2 separate regions of the Homo sapiens genome follow, and region 2 is linked to region 1. The links are contacts of gene promoters, found by promoter capture Hi-C in human tissues and cell types (Jung and others, 2019). All regions are on one chromosome and are shown on one strand. Each heading gives the region's core, a stretch centred on a gene start or on the middle of the fragment in contact. The rest is flanking DNA. Distances are from core to core; before and after follow the strand shown.

Region 1 (2,892 bases), core at 197-2,696:
TGCTTTCAATGAGTCCTGTGTCCTTCCATTCACATTCATGATACAATTAGTTGCATCTGTCCTTGCAGCCATTGGTTTTCATTCTCTGATACTCTGCTATGTTCCACCTCCCAAACAGCCTGGGATAGAGCAAGGGCTATCAAACTTCACTGATGAGCCCAGTCAATTTCTCTCTAACCATTTACAACAAGCAGGTGAGCGTGCACACATGCAAACATCCATACACACAATATACAAATAACTGAAACTAACAACTCATGAAACATTACTTACCCTTCAACATGTCATGCTCACTGATATTTTTATTCTTTTCTATTTTATTTTAAAAAGTACTGGGGTTTCACAATCTACTGAAAGATTACCATGCATATTTGAGAAACATTAACATAGAAAATAAGACTCAGTCTTTAGTTTTTAATAGCAGTGAGTCTGCATCCCAGATCCACCACTTAATCTGGGTAAGTTACTTTAAAAACCTCAGTATCCTCAACTGTAAAATGAGAATAGCAACAGCCTTTCACCTTAGGTGATTTTTGTAGGACAAAATGAGAGAAGTTTAGAAGAATGGCCAGTGTATGACTGACGTTGAACAAATGCTAGCTCCTTCCATATCCTGCAAAGTTAATGCAGCAACATCTCTTTTGCCAGGTTATAAAACAAAATGCCCCCCACAGAGTTAAAATATAGAACACCAAAAGAAGCAAGGTATTAGCATTCTCTGTTGAAAGACTTTGGATCTTCTAGCTACAGTAAAACAAGTCTGAAGCCTAATTTCTGGTTTTGATCAAATGCAGTCTCACAGCCAGAGAGCTGAAGAGTGACTTAGCTCCCTGCCGGTCCTCCCTGTCAGTGACATCCTCTGGTTTCACAACCAGTTCATGGGTTCCCAGGGCCTTCACCCAGATGTCTTCCAGGCGTGACTTCATTTTAGTCCTTGGTGTAGATATTCATGTCCATCACCAACCAGAGTGTGACTGTGAACATTGTATTTCTCTGATGTTCGATTTCATTAACTAAAAATTGGAGAAAACAACCATTTAATGAGACTATAAGGAGGGTTAAAGATATAAAATATTGAAAGGGACTAGCATTGAGGAAGGATCATGAGGAAGTTTTCAATAAATATTAGTTCTTGAATTCTTCCCCTTCCATTAACTCCTGTACATGTATTATTACCACATACTCTCACCTCTTAGGCTGCCAAGAAAAGTCACAGGTAAACAATGAAGACTTGAGACTGGTTTGAGGGTGGCCACTGCTGGGTAACAATTTGAGCCAAGAAAACATTCCAGGAACTCCTTCAACCCAGTCATGAAGAAGGCAGGTTCTTCTTCAGCATTGTTTGTGGTTTTCAACCACACATCCTAAAGTACATTTTTGATTCTATCGTTTCAATTATTCATTCATTCATTCAGGCTTAGAGAAACCTCCAGGAGACTGCTATCATGGCAGAGAAGCCCAAGCTCCACTACTCCAATGCACGGGGCAGTATGGAGTCCATTCGGTGGCTCCTGGCTGCAGCTGGAGTAGAGGTAGGTTCTGAGTAAGGTCATCTTAAGTTGGATTTAAAATTGCGTTATCACATACTTTTCCCACAGAAACTATGCAATGATTACTTACTGAAGCATTGTGCCTTAAATAAAAATGGACTGTAATTAAGAAAAAGATGAATAGATTTGACCTAAAAATTGTTAAAATTTCTTCTTATCTAAGAGCATACATATTAAAATACAATTAAGAAACTAATCAAAAAGTGTAGAACTTAAGTGGATTAGAATTTAAACAAACTGTAAAAAATAATTTATGGCATTAGAAACTTGGATATTGACTGAATATTTGATGACATGAAATAATTATTGTTAATATTTCATGTGTGATAATGTACTATGGTTATCTTTAGAACAGTTTATGTGTTTTAGGAAAACACATTGAAGTATTTAAGGATTAATCATATGGATCTGGGATTTCTTTGGAATTATTACAAAAGGAGAAGTAGGTGGGCATAAATATAACTTCACATTGGTTTTGGTTGATAATTATTGATTCTAGGTGAGAAATATAAGGAGAATTTTTATGCTTTTCTGTTTATTTTTATTCATGTTCATAATTTCCACAACAAAAAAATGAAAATACGTAATATTTAAAAATGGCTGTAGTTAGAGGTAAAATGCAAACTATAAATGAGAGGTGTAAGGGAGTGGATTGTAACAAACTACCTATTAAAGATTGACTACATTCACAGCAATTATTTGTTGAGCACTTATTAATTCCAGGTTCTGTACTAGGTCATGGAGATAGACAGTGAACAAGACAGACACAGTCCCTGCCCTGGGGCGGCCTACATGTCTATGAGGATGCAGACAAGTAAACACGTGGTTAAAATGAGGCGTGGAGGCTTCTAGAACACCCAAGCATTCCCCAGTGTTACCAGGTCATCCTCCCAGTGTTTGAGTAGGAAATGCCTGGAGGTGTCTGTGGGACTCCGCTGAGTGCTGCCCTCTAGAGGTGTCACTGAGAAAAACACTTCCCAGTCCAGACCAGAGTCCTTCAGCGACTGCCTGAGGGTTTTCCTGGGAAGTGAGTCATGGACAAACTCAGGAGATCTTGTCCCTCGGGTGGCAGCAGAAAAGGGGGGTTTCAGGTGAGGTGGCGTCCTGTGAAGGGAACTTCTAGCGCGCCCCTTCAGCCTCACAGCGCCGTGTGGACCTGAGCCTCGGAACGGTACTTTGTGCGTTGCTTCACGAAGGCTTGGGACTTTAGCCTCACCCTTTCTCAGTTCTATGAAGAAATAAGCACATAAGAAATCCAAACACTATCATTCTAGGTTGTTTCCTTTGTACAAATGAATACCCTGTTTCACTGTCACGCAGACATCAGCTCTGCAGCTCAGGG
Region 2 (2,916 bases), core at 264-2,763, 57 kb before region 1:
CAGGCTTTGTCTGAAGATGAACATGATGAAAGCGATCCATTAGAAACTATTCTGGCACCATGTGTAGGAAGACAGGAGACCAATTTCCCAACCAGAGAATATTGTAGTGTTTCAGAGATGGATATTTCTTAAAAGGATAGTGACAGTGGGGTGGAGAGGAAGATTTTTTAAAACTCATTTTAAAGTAAGTTGCAGACGTCAGTGCAGTTCACTCCTAGACACTTCAGCTTGCAGATTATAACAGCGCAGGTTAGGAGTCAGAGCCGATATTGCAAGAAAGATGATGAATTCAAGTTCACCCTGTTAGATAGGAGTTCTAAATTTCTTTTCAAAGAATTAACATGTCAGTATATTCAATTTTTTGCCTTCTACTTTTAAACTTAACTACCTCGTAAAGCAATCTTTTTCGATTACCTACTCCACCCTGACTCATTCCGATCACCTGCTCCACCCTAACTCATTCCGATCACCTGCTCCACCCTGACCCATTCCGATTACCTGCTCTACCCTAACTCATTCCGATTACCTGCTCTACCCTGACTCATTCTGATTACCTGCTCTACCCAAACTCATTCCGATTACCTTCTCCTCCTAACTCATTCCGATTGCCGGCTACCTGCTCTGCCCTGACTCCTGCCAAAGCACTCACCCCGTCATTCTCTTTAAATTAGCCAATCAGAATTAGTTTAGCCAGTGCAGTCTAACCCTAGCCAATAGGGGAACGACACAGCAGCAGGGGGAAAGACACAGCAGCAGGGGCCACGTGCGTCAGGGATAAGAAACCCTTCCCCTCCTTTGTCCAAGTGTGCGCTCACCGTTGTTCCATCTGTGAGAGCGCACCCTTCTATATAGAAGTACCTTGCCTTGCTGAGAATTAAAAAGAAAATTTTATATTCAAGTACTATTCTTTTTGCGTCACTGAAACTTTATATATAACAACCCAGGTTTACTTCAGATCCCAGGGAGATAGAACAGGAAATGAGGAAAGCAGACAAGGCATTTTATGAAGATAGACTTGGAGGAACAATGATACCACTTATACCCAAGTTATAATTTTCCAGCAAAATTTCAATTTACTAGACCCCAATATAGAATTCTCTATTCAACAAAATTTTATGTTTTTAAGTAGAACGTGGGCTGTGGAAGGCTCTGAATCACACTAGAGGTTGCTGTTGAGTCTATGGAACATATGGAGAAATGAAGACTCTGAAATAGTCTACTCCTGGAGGAAGAGTGCTGTCATGAAGGTGGAGTCACTGCCCAAGGGAGATTGGAGAGGGAGAGAGCAGATTGTAGAGCCACATCCTGAATGTCAAGGCTACACGCTGTAGGGCCTGGGGCAGACAGAACATGCAGTAGCAGGTGCTAAACCCCTGGCCCATGTGGAAAATGCAAGCAGGTGGATGGTGTGGATGCCACAGTGATGTGGAATGAGAAGAGAAAATGGGAGCCTGAGCTCCAACTGAGGAGTGAGCAGAGCCACATTCTTGCTCCCTCACTCAATCAGGGAACATAAACAAAGGCCTGGACCTTCACACCATCCAGTTAGGCAACACAGGTGGGAATGTCAGGCTGGAAAGACTCAGGGAGAAGCAGGGGTCCCATCCTGGGTGCGCATGTATTCCTGATCTGATTCCTCAAATTCTCCAGGTGTTACAGAGCCATGGACAAGACTACCTTGTTGGCAACAAGCTGAGCCGGGCTGACATTAGCCTGGTGGAACTTCTCTACTATGTGGAAGAGCTTGACTCCAGCCTTATCTCCAACTTCCCTCTGCTGAAGGTGACCCATTTCACAGCCCTCAGAGAGACAGCCCCACATGTCCCATCTTGGGATCTAGTATCTGGGCCCTTGGACTGGCCATGTTCTGACCCCAGCCTTTTTCAGGCCTTCAGTACCCCCAGGTCTCCAAAATGAGCTTCCAGACCCCAATTTTGAGGCATGAAAAGACTCTTGTTCTGGAAAGGAAATTTGTGGTCATGCTACCCCATGAAAAGTATTTTGCCTTTTATCACGGAAAGGACCCAGGGCCCAGCATCTTCCTTCCTCCCCCATTCCTCTGTGGTCTGTTCCTGAGTTCTGTGATTCCCTTTATCCCAAGACTGTCCTTGTGTTCCCACACTGAATTGGTCTGAGCAGGGCCCTTTCCATCTGGTTCCTTCCTTAGGCTCTGGCCAGGGTGGGCAGCAGGAGCTGTCAGATAGTTGTGTTCCTCTGTGCACAGCACACCCAACACACTGCCCCCAACCCTGTATCTCTCACTGAGAAAACGTGGTCCCATGGTTTGACTTTAATATTTTCTATAACATTTTCCTTTCCAACTCATTTCTCCATATTTTCACTTCTGCTTAGAGACTGACCTGTGTTGATATCTCACAGGCACATTATTTTTTCTTGTCTTATACAAGAGTCACTAATCTACAGGATTGATATGTAAGGAGAAAGATAGGGATGACTGAATTGATTAAAACTTTAAGACATCTTTGCGGAAAATAAAGTGAGCTACATGTTCTTCCTCTTATCTTCATTTATCACTGGGTGTCTGTTTCTGCCTCCATGCTGGTGCTGATGGAGGGGACTCACTTGGTCTCTGGCAGGAGGGGTCAAATTCCCTGGGTGGTATTAATGGTGGTGGCAGACCTTGGCTTCACTCTGAGGCTGTGCTTTGTGAATTACAGGCCCTGAAAACCAGAATCAGCAACCTGCCCACGGTGAAGAAGTTTCTACAGCCTGGCAGCCCAAGGAAGCCTCCCGCAGATGCAAAAGCTTTAGAAGAAGCCAGAAAGATTTTCAGGTTTTAATAAAGCAGCCATGGAGGCTAAGAACATGCAAGACCAATATTCTAAAGTTTTGCAACAATGAAGTGCTTTACTTAAGTGTTGATTGTGCCTGTTGTAAAGCTAATGAACCCTTTCC

Evidence for each region. The method cuts DNA at HindIII sites, captures the fragments that hold promoters and counts their contacts. A contact is called where the count stands out against the background at its distance.
Region 2: a contact is called between a fragment that was not itself captured here and the fragment with the promoter of GSTA5 in region 1, in 1 of the 25 tissues and cell types used here (spleen).

Annotation. Positions count from the first base shown.
Region 1 is chr6:52,839,367-52,842,258 of GRCh38, reverse strand. GSTA5 (glutathione S-transferase alpha 5) reads left to right here and starts at 1,446. Exons shown (of 6, transcript NM_153699.3): 1 at 1,446-1,532. The coding sequence starts at 1,446. The HindIII fragment of the contact is 18,057 bases long and covers 1-2,892 here.
Region 2 is chr6:52,896,691-52,899,606 of GRCh38, reverse strand. GSTA3 (glutathione S-transferase alpha 3) reads left to right here. Exons shown (of 7, transcript NM_000847.5): 6 at 1,651-1,782; 7 at 2,679-2,916. The coding sequence ends at 2,801. The region is part of intron 2 of LOC105375091 (a long non-coding RNA gene); the gene reads right to left. Among named protein-coding and RNA genes, the nearest start is that of GSTA3, 12 kb to the left of the region's middle. The HindIII fragment of the contact is 6,470 bases long and covers 1-2,916 here.